Linked DNA regions of Homo sapiens: regions 2, 3 and 4 are each linked to region 1. The links are contacts of gene promoters, found by promoter capture Hi-C in human tissues and cell types (Jung and others, 2019). All regions are on one chromosome and are shown on one strand. Each heading gives the region's core, a stretch centred on a gene start or on the middle of the fragment in contact. The rest is flanking DNA. Distances are from core to core; before and after follow the strand shown. Region 1 holds the start of STXBP6 (syntaxin binding protein 6). Region 2 overlaps STXBP6 (syntaxin binding protein 6). Region 3 overlaps STXBP6 (syntaxin binding protein 6). Region 4 has its middle 37 kb from the start of STXBP6.

Region 1 (3,434 bases), core at 222-2,721:
CTGGACCGATTCCCACTAGCAGCCTCTGAGACGAACAGCAGCTCACAGCCTCGGCTGAAGCTCCTCCACCCCCAGGGTGGCTCTGACTAGGGCGCAGCTCTGACTAGTGTGCAGGCAAAACCCCAAAACTCAAAACAAGAAGTGAAAAAAGTGGAGCCAGGAAAAATTCGTCGGCATCCTCCACAGCCTTACAATCCGCACAATGCCAGTTCCAGGGTCCTGGGGTCGCCCGGAAGGCAATCTTAGGAGAGGGTGGAATGAGATGGAAGTTCCTGCGGACCTACCGATCCTATTCTCTCCCACCCAGTCCCTAGGGAAGCGTAATAGGAAGGGGAGAAGGTTCGTTATGAAATCCTGGGGCCAGAACCAAGGGCAGATACACCCCGGGGACTTTCTCCTAAAGAACAAGATGTCTTTCCAAATTCTCCACCTGCAGGTCCTGTCCTCTGTGAAGATGAACGGGGTGGGGTGGTGAGGTGGCGGGGTGTTGTAAACCTGAGGAAAGGTTGGAGGGAAAATCAAGCCACCCACCTACTCCAGCCACGTTGCCCGGCGGTGTTGGTGAGGCTCGATGCCGGCGTGCACGGCAAGCGCGAATTCGGAACCTGGCGCCCTTGACCAAGCCTGAGATCGGAAAGGGGGCATCGCCCAGGGCCAGCGCCCTGGGGGCAGGGTGCCGTGCCCGCCAGAAAAGCTCGCCTCAGTTTTGGCAGTAATGATTTTCCTAGAAGATGCCAGAGTTCGCGAAGATCGGAGTGATTCGCGGATTTCTGCGCTCAAGCTAGAGGCGCAGCGACCCCGAGCTCCCCCACACTGGGAGCCTCGGGGCAGCATTCTCGGGGCCCATGCCATCGCGGGGACGGTGCGGAAAAAAAGGCTCCATCCTCAACTTTCTCGGAGGAAATCGCTCCGTTCTGCGGCTTGCCCAATACTGCCCGCACAACGGGTCCCAGGGTTGGAGAGAACCAGGGACACGAGTCCCTCTCTGCGCGCACAAAGCAGCTGCGCCGGGGCGCGCGGCCCCCTCTCCCGCCACCCGCCAACTTGGAAGAATCTCTCTGGGAGCCTGCCTACTCCCCTGGCCTCACAGCCACCCGCCTCGGACGGAGCGCCAGGCGCCCCAACAGCCGTGGCGGCTGCAACCGCATCTCCCGGGCTTGGCCTCCGCCCTGACCGCCTGGCTCCCCTCGCCCCGGTCCTACCGTGCAGCCTGGCTCGCGCCCCTGCCGTGCCAGTGCGCGGCACGCGTCCCAGAGCACGAGGCTCCTCCCCGGGGGGCTGCCCCGCGCGGGGCTCCGGGCTCCGGACAAGGCTTAGCCGGCCCGGGTGCTGGCTCGCCGCCGCTCGCGGCTCCCGCGCCGGCTCCTGCTGCCGCGCGCGAAAAGGGAGGGGTTGGGGGGAAACTCCCGGCAACTCCAACTCCGGGCGCTGGAGCTCCAGCTGCAGCCGCGCGCCCGCCCGCCGCCGAGTGCGAGCGCCTGCGAAGCAAACCTGCCCGCGCGGCCGCCTCTGAGCATGCTCAGTGCCGCCGTGGGCGAGCCCGAGCGCCCTGGCCCGGGGCAAAGAGCAGCGGCTAGGGGCTGGGGGCTGGGGGCCGGGACCCGCGACCCGCCCCAGGCCTCGGAGCGCGGAGGTGGCAGAGGAAGGGAAAGGCCAATGTAGGGGCGGGGGCCCTGAGCCAAAGACCCGGGAGAAACCGATCTGGGTGCAAGAGCCGGTGCGACTTTCACGGCTTGTGGGAAGTTTGTGGGCTAGAAAGGTGGGCTGCTTCTGTGAGCTTCTCTGTGAGACTATATTCGAAAGGACAACCAGGAAACATTTTTTTTTTTCTCTAGGAAAAAACGAATAGACCCAGCCGATGGGTTTTTATCCTGTGCGCTCCTTCCTTTATTCTTACGATAGCAAACTCAAAGATCTAATGGGGCCTGACAGGCACTGTAACTGGGGGAAGGCGAACTGGAGAGAGCTCCGAAGGCAGGGCCGCTTATCTGCTCTCAGGGTCCCTTGCTATCGGGCAAGAATTAGACCTAGTGTTGCTAGATTTTCTGATTTTTCCAGAAATGACGGAGTATATTCATGTACAATATCCTGATTTGTAAAATCTTGATAACAAATTCAATTTTCTCAAAACACCCTGGACTAAACAAAACATATCTGCGTCCCCTCCCTGCTGAACCCCCCAGACAGTGATTTGAGCATTGTGATTCTGCACTCTTTTAGCGAAGTGGTGCTGAGTGCTCACTGTGGTTTGGGAAAGTGCTGGAAAGGATCCAAGATGATTCAGAATATCTTCGAAGTACTACTAGTTACTAGGGGAAATGGGTTTTCCTGACAGTAGAGCGCTACACTTAAATGCTGGAGCGTTCAAGAAGAAAGACGTTACTAATGTAGAAAGCGGTTGTAAGAACTAACTTTTGGGAAACATCATTAGTAAAAGTATCTGTGTGGGGAGTCACTGCAGGGCCGATAACAGTGCCCCGGAAGGCACTTTTGAGCCTGAAGCAATAGGAAAAACCCCTAAACTTACCCTGTCTTTATTTAAAATTTTGTTATTTTTCATCATGCATTTTTGATATTAATTTTGATTTTTTTAAATATTCCATTAAAATATTAACCTTGATTACTGAATTCTTTGGTGAACCTTTAAGTGCTGTGACTCACCTCACCCTAGCCTGGCCCTGTTGGGGTGTTAGATGGTGGTACACAGACCTGCTTGTTTGGAGTGCAAGGGGTAAGCATTAGCATAGTGAAATAGGAAAGAGGGTTTGAGCTGTGGATGGGGGCTCAGGCAGAAGTCCTGACTGTCAGTCTGTGGCTCCTGCACTTAGTTTGTAGACTACGTGGAGATAGCAGAGATGCTGGGGGAGGAGACAATCCGAACTGAATTCTGTGAAGATGGACAGGGCAGCAGACCCAGGAAGATGGTTTGGAGGGGAAGAATGGGAGAAACGGGGATACCTAGGATATCATAAAACTGATACCCTAGGTATCCCCATTTGGTAGCTACAGTTTTATGAAAATCAGAGAAAATTGCCTGAAAAAGTAAGTTTCTTTTGCTCTGCCTATCTCTGTAGAGACATGTCATGGGGCTACCTTAGTGCCAATGAGTAGTGTGCCGGGGTCCTGGTCTTAACCTCAGCCATTTCCCTACCAGGCTTCCATGGGCAAGTGGCTCAACCTCTAAGCTTCACTTTCCTCATCTGTGGAAGGGAAAACAATTCTCATGGCGTTTTTGTGAGAATCCAAAGAAATGTATGTCTAAGGGCTTTGAAAATGTTGAGAGTTCTTACCTACAAGTCATCTATGTAAAATTTGAATTGAAATAAGGGCCTTTTTGCTTGACAAAAGCTCTAAGTAGCAAGCTTCTTTAATTTAGCAAGCCTTTCTAATGTGTTGGGATGATATTTACAAAACTTTGGAATCAGCTTTTGGGT
Region 2 (3,301 bases), core at 639-3,138, 40 kb before region 1:
CCATGAGCACACCACTGCACTCCAGCCTGGGAGATAGAGGGAGACCTTGTCTCAAACAAAAAGAGTTCGTCTTTCCAAATGTACCTGATAAATTACTTTAGGTTGTTAAAGACTCACTGAATGTTATAATTAATTTGACAAGCTGTTGCTTGATAGAACTTTAAAATTCATGTTTTATTTAACTTGGTGTATGGAGAACAGCGTCTATTGGCAACAATAATTCCTCTTTATTCATTTTTCTGTTGACTCTCAAATAGCAATTACATAATGCTCCCAAAGTAATGGTAAAAGAGACTACCAGCTTGAGAATGTGTAACAAAAAAGACATTTTACACATCAAAAGGTTTTATACCTATAGAATATTTTACACATCAGAAGCTTTTAGAATAGCAAGCAGTAGCATCTAACAACTCACAGAAGAATGGCTAAGCTTTTAAATCCCAAAACGAAGAGTCACTCTAACATCTTCCACCAAGACTTTCTTCACAAATACTGTGGTCAAAAGGTTTAAGTTTTTTAGCAAATACTATCTCAGCCAGCCCACCAGCCAGCCAGTATATATTATGTGCTAACTCCACAGAGAGACATGGAGAATTCTGAGAGCAAGATATGACTTTTATCACAAGTTACTGGATTCATCAGCAAAATAAAAAGGATGGATGGGATGATAGCTAAGATCACTTCTAGTTAATTTGTTTTGTTTTCACTTCAGAATGGTCTCATTCAACTATCGAACTGTATTATAAGACGTCAAGTTAAGGACGTCTTAAAGCAATTAAAAAATGAAATTTCAAAACAGTTCAATAAATGGAGAATTCTTATCACTGGGTCCTAATATCTGATGTTCTAAAACCTAAACATACAGCTTTGAAGCTTCAAATATTATTTAATTTCCCAGGGACTCTTCTCTTAAGCTCATTTGCTGATTACTTGGGTTCCTTGTTTTTCCATTTTCCTACTTGCATCTCAAAATGAGGCATAAATTATACAAATTATACAAAACTATACAATAAGTAACCAAAATACATTTCCTTCCCAGACCCAAAGCCCAAAGTGTTAGCTTGCACAGTATCATGTAGCGTAATCAAATGCACAGAAAATCTCCTCCCTCAGTGAAACAGAAACCCAACAAGCCCAGTCCGACAAAGTGAGGAGCACGCCATCGCCACAACGTCACCTACTCTTTGAGAACTTACTCCGACTTGGTGCTGACCCTGCACTAAGAGATCCAGGTTTTCTAGTCCCACTGGTTTCTGTTACAGGGCATCAAAACACCCACATGTAGCCTCTTCATGCAAAACAACATCACACACACACAAACTGCATTTAGAACCAAGCCAAATACCACAAACATTATATGTTACCAAATTTTCAGCAATATGACTGCCACTGTATGGACTACAAATCATTCAAAGCCATTATTTACTTTTTCTAGAGTGAGTGGCACTCTCCAGGGAGAAATGCTAACAGGCTACCCCCAACTCTCCTCATCAGCCTAACTTCAGTTGTTTTTTCACTAAAACACCTAAAGATACCAAACACAACTGCTAACAACAGTGGCTCACTGAGCTCCCGGGCAAAGGAAAAGAGGTCTTCAGAGCTTCAAAAGCACACTTGGAGATTCGGACACACCCTCATTCCTCTTTGGGAATCACTGATATGAGAGATTCCAGCTCAACATGCATTCCTGGAATTCTGAGTTCTCACCATAGAAACTCTAGCCAAGGCAGTCCTCAGGAAGAGCTGTTAAGTTATGGCTCACTTTATGATGGTTATGCTCACTTTAGATTTGAAAAGAGATTTATGGACTAGCCCAAAGTAGCCTCTAATCAGACTCAGAGGAAGAACATGTTTCCACGTTAATAAAACTTCTTCTCCGGTAAACCTATTCAGGCAATTAAAATGCGTTCCAATTTCTACTTCCCAAGCCTTTACATTCTTTGCTCTTAGCAAGAGAATTCAATAAACAAAACCTGAATTTTAAATCTGAATTCCAATTGCCTGAGGCTATTTTATACTTAAATAAATAAATAAGTGGCATAAATTAACAAATGTTTTGTATTTAAAATATGTTTTTATAAGGCATTTACCTACCTTTAACGCAGCCTTTTAGTTGGGACTGCACTTCATGGAAAACTCCACACACAAAGCACCTTTCCTCCTAGTACTTCAAGGTCCTTATGAAGGAGCAGAACTTTCTAAACAGGAAACTAAAGCACAGAAAGGCGGAGCCTTAGTGACACTAGAACCCCAAATTCCTGGCATTCCCCAGCTGTAAGTTCCAGGCTCCCATCATCATATACTACATGCTTTGCATGTGGAGACGGGTCTGTTTGATGATTTTTTTTTTCTTTTCTTTGGGGGATAGGATTTGGTCAAAGTGACAAACATGAAAGAAAACAAAATTTTGACAAGACCAATGGTGGTGGTGTGGAGTTTCAAAGCCCATCCTATGAAAGAACCACCTTTCTACTTTACATACTGACTTTCTGTATTCTAAAACTACCTTCAACAAAGTCAATGAGATGACTTGCTGGAAAAGCCCATGAAAATGACAGTCTAAATATAGAAATCTAAATGCAACTAATTACTTAAATCAGATATTGAGACCGTTTCACAATGGCAGATTTAATGTTGAGAAAAATAACAAGCAAGGCTACAGTGCAAAATGAATTTGTCTATAACTACAAAAACTAGTTTAGTATTAAAGATCTACTTTCCAACAAAGAAATTTATATTCCATTAAGAACCCTGCAACCTTTGACATAGTCTTTGTTTCACTCCCCACCAGAACCACAAAGTAATTATGACACACCTGACATATTATGACACACAGGCTCTGATCCAAGCTTCCTACAAGATGACACTTTTCCAGATGGCACCTGAGGCTGTCAGGTACCGTCAAGTATTTCCTATGTTGGAAAAATACTCAAGGATATTACATAAGACTGCTCCTCTCCTGTATATGCACTAACTTCAGAAAGCCACTGCTAACTGTTTTGGAAACACACTTCCTTTTCTCATGATAGAAACTCTTTCATACCTGGGAAATAAGAGCTAATGTTGTTCATTAGCCAAGAGAAGCTAAGGTTATTGGGCATTGTGACAAAATGGCACGTTACTGGGTTCAGTCCAAGAGAATGAGACAAAATAATGTTTTCCCTGAGCCCCAGAGACTACAAAATCCAGTTATATTTTAAGTAGCCATTTTTAGAGATTTATATACTGTTCAGTGATAAAAATAAATGAGAGTCCCAGGCTTAAGGCACCATTATTCAGCTTTTAAAATTGCAGCATGTTT
Region 3 (3,477 bases), core at 313-2,812, 59 kb before region 1:
GTTTACTAATTCATTACTGTCTGGTTACTGAGGATACAGAAGCTGGTGTAGATACTAAATTAATTAGCATGATTGGGAAAGTTGTAAGAATATATTTTCAGAAAGGTAAAGCACAGTTTAAAAATAAAAAAGTACTGCCCAATGGGGCAGTAAAGCAGAGATCAAGAAATCGTCACAGCGATTTGGGGGAACTGAACTAAGGGCATCAAAATAAACAAAAAACAAGCCAAATATTCATATCACATAGTCATCTTAGAATTTTATAAAGACTTTATATTCTATCCCTCTCCCAATATGCCAGCTGCTCTGATAAAGTGCCACAAAGCAGGCTCTGAAGAAACAAATACCAAGAATGTGAAATGTGTGTTTGTGGGGAGGGGGATGGCAGTATGGTGCACGCCTAATGTATGAAGGTGAGGACTGTCTTCATGCTTAATTAAGATCCTCCAATTAACCTATTTCCCAGCATCTGGCCTCAGAATGCAAGCAAGGAGGCTGCCCATCACGAGTGTGGGCTCTGTTCTACTAGACAGAGCATATGTTGAGCCAGTGACCCAGGTATGACGTGTCTTTCTCACAGACAGACTGGGAGGTGTAGCCTTCTGCCCTTTCTTACATGAGTATTAAGATACGCCTCACCTTTATACGTTAAGCATGTACTGTGGTTACATGTGCCATGTAGTCCATGGGTTGCAGAATGGTTCAAATGGATCGTGACAGAACTAGAATTGTGACAGAGATCATTGAGAATTGTGGCTTCAGATGGAGACAATGGTTTTTAAATGGTCCCACAGTCAGCAAGAGCTGACTATGACTTTGGACACTTCCTGTTGGGGAAAGGTTAAGTGAATATGTGGTTTTACCTATAAGGATTGGCTTACATTGGAAGAGGAGATCTTTAGAACTGTGTGTAGGAAATGAGTTACGAGCCAGGCCGGGGAAGGGTCATGCCTCAGAATGTCTTGCTTCTCATCACTTTGTGCTTCTGAAGGAAGCTTCCAACTTCCTGATCTTATGCACCACATGGGTATGCTTCCCTGTTCCAAGCTGAGTAGGATGGGGAGAGTTGAGAAAGGCCCGACTTAGGAAGAATCAATCCAGCTACAATATGACCTTGCTTGAAAAGATAAGCTGCGCCGCGCGCAGTGGCTCACACCTGTAATCCCAGCACTTAGGAAGGCCGAGGTGGGTAGATCACCTGAGGTCAGGAGTGTGAGACCAACCTGACTAACATGGCAAAACCCCATCTCTACTAAAAATACAAAATTAGCCGGGCGTGATGGTGCAGGCCTGTAATCCCAGCTACTCAGGAGGCTGAGGCAGGAGAATTGCTTGAACCTGGGAGGCGGAGGTTGCAGTGAGTCGAGATCATGCCATTGCACTCCAGCCTGGACATGAGTGAATGAAACTCCATCTCAAAAAAAAAAAAAAAAAAAAGATAAGCTGGGTCAATTAGATCCTGAAAGAAAACAGAGCAATTAGTAGTGGGAGCTGAAGCTTTAAGGTCAGTTATGCAGAAAGAGGCTGAGAGAAGAAGGTTGATCACATACAAGCAAATGCCACAAAGAAAACTGGTCTGTAGGTTGAGGAAAGGGTGATGCAGATATGCAGAGAGAAGAGGAGGGAGAGAGAGGAAGAGGCAGAGAGGGGACAGGGAGAGGGAAGGGAGGGGAGAGGATGGAGGAGAGAGCAGAGGAGGAGAGAGCAGAGAGAGAAGAAAGGAGAGAGAGCATGAGAAAGGAGGAGAAGAGAAAAAGGAGAGTAGGAGGAGAGAGAAAGAGAAGAGAGACAGAAGAGAGAGGAGAGCAGACAGAAGACAGAGGAGAGGCAGCAGAGGAGAGAAGAGGAAAGCAGAGAGGGGGAAGAGAGAGGAGAAGGAGATGAGTGAGAGAAGGAGGAGGAAGAGAAAGAGGAGGAGAAGAGCAGAGAGAGAGGAGGAGGAGGAGGAGAGAGGAGAAAAGGAAGCATCCAGAACTTCTGCTCATCTAGTCATCCCCACTTCCAGTACATATGCAGGCTTATGAAAAACTCTTCTTTTCCTAAAGTAATTGGAATGACCTGCTATTACTTGCAACCAAAAGAACCAACAAAAGCAATGAATATTGTCAAAAAATTAAAATCTGCAAGTATGTGTCTTACTTTCTTTATTAATACAGTAGGCCTAACAGCTGCCCCAATCAGTTTATACAGGTCATTGAGAGAATGCAGATTAATGCGAATGTGTAATATGATGTTGTTAAGAGGTGTGGATAGTAAAATGACAGCCAATTCAGAGTCTTAAATACACAGAGAACTTTCATTGCCTGTTAGATGCTCAGTTCACTGAGCTTTTATCATCCCCAAGAGCAATATAAATCCAGTCAAAAGACATATTAATGCAAGATGACTTTTGTCTTTTACATAAGGGGAAAATCAACCAATTCAAGGTTATGATTCCCACAAATTCAAACCACACTAAATATGTCATCTAACAAAAGAAAGAAAAGGAAAGAATGCCTAGAAGACAAACTTTGGTGACAGATAAGTACATCTCTCAGAACTGCCTTTTCTCCATGACTGCACAGCCTGGAGGGCTTGCTTCTCACACAGGAATTCTGACTAGAGAGCGGTAGACGGCCCACCAAGCCTCACAGCCCCTACATCCACTCCCAGCTTGCATGTGGCAATATGGAACCCAGACACCTGGTGGCCCTCCTCCTAATACGACCATTCTCCTTCCTGCTGCTTCTCCCTGGGCTGGGCTACGTGCCACTCTTTTGCTCAACATTCCAACAGCTTTATCACTGTGCCAAGCACATTGTAGGGAACTGCAAGATTCTTCTTACCGGTCTGTTTTTCCAACCAGATTCTGAGCTACCGAAGAAACCCCAGCACCTAGCACAATAGCTAGGAAATAGCTCCATATTATGGAGCTGAAAAAGCATGTCTTCAATGCATAGATCCATCTTCCCCATCTTGTTCCACTTTCCTGGCCCTAGCCTTTCCTTTTAAAGGTACTACTTAGTCCCATAGTCACACTGAAAGAGACTGCTCTAACTACCCATGAGCTTTGCTTTCCCTTGGCTCTGCTGCCTCCTTACCACAAACAAGACCATGACCAATGCTGCAAAGGCACAGTCTACACTCCACATGGTCTCTAAATATCTCAAACAAATTTGAAGAAAAAATAAGTAGGAAAAAAAAAGGTCAAAGACACAAACTTACCAGCCGACATAAAACACCTAATGCAGGACCATAATCCAGGGGTCAGCAAATATAAAGGACCACTTAGTAAACATTTTAAGCTTTGCAGACCAGAGTTGGTATAGCTACTCAACTCTGCTGTGACAGTGTGAAAGCTGTCATAGACAAGACATAAATGAATGGACGTCACTGCGTTCTAGTAAAATTTTGTTTATAAAAACAAGTGGCCGACCCACAAGCTGGAGTTTGCTGACCCCTGGATTAATGTAATGCAATAAGCACCAATCAAGAACA
Region 4 (3,471 bases), core at 556-3,055, 37 kb after region 1:
GCATAACAGAAAATTATTCTGCATCTCATCCAAGCTCAAAAAAAAAAAAAAAAATCCCATTTTTAAGTGCATGCTAAAATGGTGCCAAGAGAAAACTCAAAATAGAAGCCCCAGGACAGAATGATCATTTTATTCAGTAAGTTTAAATGTAGTATTAGAGGTTAACATAACCAAATAGAGTATCCAGGATATTATTTAAAATTTCGAGTTGAAACTTTCAAAGAGATGGGTAAAAAGGAAGGAGTACCTGCAAGAAGTTTTCTCCAAGATCTATGCCTGCTAAAAGACCTCCAAATACATATCCCAAGCATGTGAACAGGCACTGTTGCTAGGTATTGTTGATTCAAATTTATTTAGTTTTTTAGAATTGTAATTATCGTGTTTGGAATAGTTACTAAGCTGCTATTATGTGCACGGTATTGTGTTTAAGTGTTTCTGGAAGCTGAGGTGATGATGTCTATGTTTATGTTCCGTAAGACACCAGGAGTGGAAGTCTGTGGGTGGTAGGGGGAGCATGGAGGAGGCAGGCCCACCGGGCACGTGGTTGAAGAGATCATAGTGGAACTGTGTCATACAAATGCAGCCTGTTGTATTGAATGTACTTGTTCTCACTACGGAGTAATCCTGATCTGCCTGAACTCCAAATGAAACTACCTGTCTGTACTGGGATAAAAATAACTTCAAAGTGCTTACCAAGTATCAAGAAGTAACTTCCATATTTATGTGAAATTAATCTTATTAAGCATGAAATCTCAAGAAATTTCAAAGCTAACACTACCTCTACAAGTATCTACAAGTTAAAGATAGGAAGTTTAACACTGAGTAACTTTATTCTCATTATTTTGAAACTCACCTCCTTGGTAGCTGTATTTCCTATTCTCTTTCTTATTTTGTTGCTATCAATGAGAATGGACTTCTCCATCATGATTTAGAAAGAAAACCTTCCTTGTCCATATAGTTAAAAGTAAACTCATCTTAAACTTTTATACAAAGCATTTTCCAATCTGGTAGAAAAATGAAAAAGTTTTCTTTCAGCACTACTTTCTGTGGGCATGTACCACATATGTCTGTTTTTTTTCAATTTTCTTTTTTCATGGTGTAATTGCCCCTTGGTTATCTCCTCCAGGTGCCTCAAAATTACCTGAAGTTCAGCTCTCTGGAATTGAACTCATTGTATCTTCCTCCAAACACACTTAACCTTCCTTGGAAAATTCCTATTCATCCTTCATTGCCCAACCTCAATTTCACTTCCTCTCTTGTGCCTTTCCAGCTTCCCCAACTGAAGTAGTTGTTTCTATTGTCATGCTACTTTTTCATATTTTTGCTATTTTATTTACTTACTATTTCTTGCTTCTAAGCTCCTCAAAAGCAGGGAACCTGTTTCCTTTTAGCTACCGTAATTCATGGCATAGTTTAGACACTGAAAATATTTGTTGAATCAATTTACATGCATCTGCTACTGTCTTTTTGTTCTTTGCTTTAATGCAAACATTTCTCAAGGGTAAGATGTTTTGATTTGCTGCGTAGTGAATGTCAGTAACACACTGTTAGATCTTAGTTATGTCTCTTAAGCACTTGGATTCAATTTCCTCATTTATAAAACATAAAAGAAATGGCATTTCTTTCTTTAAGTATATACATATTTCTTTCTTTCAATGTTTTCTTTTATCTCACAGGCTCTATTTTGAGGTCTGGCTCAAAAGTAGAGTTGAAGACAATAGAAGATTTTTAATTCTGGAGAAAAAAAGATCTTAGGGGGAACAGAAGCACTGTCTTCAGCTATAGAAAGGACTTTCATCTGGAACAGGGACAGCTGAGTCTGTGTGGGTGCAGGAGCTAGAACTAGGACTAATAGGTGAAAGTTACTAAGAAGCATTCAAACATCAGATAGATTTGGTACATGTTGTCTAGGTCATACATCCCAGATGTACGAATTTCAAGGATCAGTAAAATACCCATGCCACCCCAAAATGTGGACTTACCAGGTTTTCAATGTTTTATTTTGTCAAATTAAAAAAACCCAAGCCAAACAACAACAAAAAACCAAAACGACTTTCTACTACAACTATCATTTCATAAAAGATAATTTTTACAAAAAAACAGAAGGACACAATAGAGAATAGATCTTTTGGGGATAAGGATAGTGACAAACTGACAATGCTACACACACACACACACACACACACACACACACACACACATCTTTTACTATCATTTTAATTAGATCCTGCAAACATCAATAGTGGTTTAATGGGCTTGTAGATCATCATTTGAGCATCAGTATCCTGGGGCCCCCTTTAAACCTGACATTCAATAATACTGAGTCAAGATACACAAATACAGACAAATATATATTTACATACATATATTTAATTTGGAGGCCTTGCTAGGTCTAAGAAGACATTTTCCAATAAAATTTTTTGGGGAACAGGTGTGGTGGCTAATGTCTGTTATCCCAGCACTGTGGGAGGCCAAGGTGGAAGGAATGCTTGAGCCCAGGAGTTCAACACCAGCCTGGGCAACATATTGATACCCCATCTCTACATTAAATAAAAAATAATGCATACTGGTGCATTATTGTAGCTGGGACTACAGGCACATGCACCACCATGCACTACTCAGGAGGGAGGCTTACTTGAACCCAGGAAGTCAAGGCTGCAGTGAACCATGTGTCACAACACTGCACTACAGCCTGGGTGACAGAGTAGAGACCCTGTCTTAAAAAAAAAAAGAAGTTGTTGTTTGTTTTTGGAACTTGATATATAGTTATATTACTTTGACTTACTTTCTGTATGTAGTCAGAATTTTTTTTTTTTATGTTTGCCCACCCCCCCTTTCTTTTTTTGAGGTGGAGGCGGGGTTTTGCTCTATTACCCAGGCTGGAGTGCTGTAGTGTGATCATAGCTCACTGCAGCTTGGAACTCCTGGGCTGAAGCGATCCTCCTGCCTCAGCCTCCTGAGTAGCTGTGACTACAGGCACACACTACCATGCCTGATTGTTTTCTTCATTTTTGTAGAGGCAGGGTCTCACCATGTTGCCCAGGCTGGTGTTGAATTCCTGGTCTCAAGTGATCCTCCTGCCTTGTCCTCCCAAAGTGCTGGGATTACAGGCAGGAGCCACTACACCTGGCACAGAGCATATTTTTGAACAAGATCCTTAATTCTGACATGTCTTTGCACATCATGTTTTTCTTTGAATCTCTAAAACAAGTAAGTGTTTGTTGGTCTGGAAATCCAAACATAAATCTAATGCTGGGCTCTTAGTATGGTTCAAATTGCATCTGTATGAAAACCTTGTTTAGAAAGATTAGGACAGAGACTAGTTTTCTATTGTTTTTGCTGTTTTTTTTTTCCCTTGCTGCTGCTAGTTTCCTGTGTAGTATCAGGTTGTTCCTGCTCTGAATTAGGGTCCAGTATGGACCCAGCAGGAGGTGGCTCTTCTGAAGGTGGGAGTGGTGGATGCAGGGTTGA

The links. Contacts are between HindIII fragments. The study calls those that stand out against the background at their distance.
Region 2: a fragment that was not itself captured here is called in contact with the fragment with the promoter of STXBP6 in region 1 in 8 of the 25 tissues and cell types used here (adrenal gland, dorsolateral prefrontal cortex, heart left ventricle and 5 more).
Region 3: a fragment that was not itself captured here is called in contact with the fragment with the promoter of STXBP6 in region 1 in 6 of the 25 tissues and cell types used here (IMR-90 fibroblasts, adrenal gland, dorsolateral prefrontal cortex and 3 more).
Region 4: a fragment that was not itself captured here is called in contact with the fragment with the promoter of STXBP6 in region 1 in 1 of the 25 tissues and cell types used here (spleen).

The regions. Positions count from the first base shown.
Region 1 is chr14:25,048,676-25,052,109 of GRCh38, forward strand. STXBP6 (syntaxin binding protein 6) reads right to left here and starts at 1,472. Exons shown (of 6, transcript NM_001394410.1): 1 at 1,203-1,472. It overlaps LOC124903295 (a long non-coding RNA gene), which reads left to right and starts at 1,669. Exons shown (of 2, transcript XR_007064091.1): 1 at 1,669-1,759. The HindIII fragment of the contact is 10,437 bases long and covers 1-3,434 here.
Region 2 is chr14:25,008,431-25,011,731 of GRCh38, forward strand. The region is part of intron 1 of STXBP6 (syntaxin binding protein 6); the gene reads right to left. Among named protein-coding and RNA genes, the nearest start is that of STXBP6, 40 kb to the right of the region's middle. The HindIII fragment of the contact is 5,454 bases long and covers 1-3,301 here.
Region 3 is chr14:24,989,243-24,992,719 of GRCh38, forward strand. All of the region lies in intron 1 of STXBP6 (syntaxin binding protein 6), which reads right to left. Among named protein-coding and RNA genes, the nearest start is that of STXBP6, 59 kb to the right of the region's middle. The HindIII fragment of the contact is 4,243 bases long and covers 1-3,477 here.
Region 4 is chr14:25,085,773-25,089,243 of GRCh38, forward strand. No RefSeq gene overlaps it. Among named protein-coding and RNA genes, the nearest start is that of STXBP6, 37 kb to the left of the region's middle. The HindIII fragment of the contact is 8,084 bases long and covers 1-3,471 here.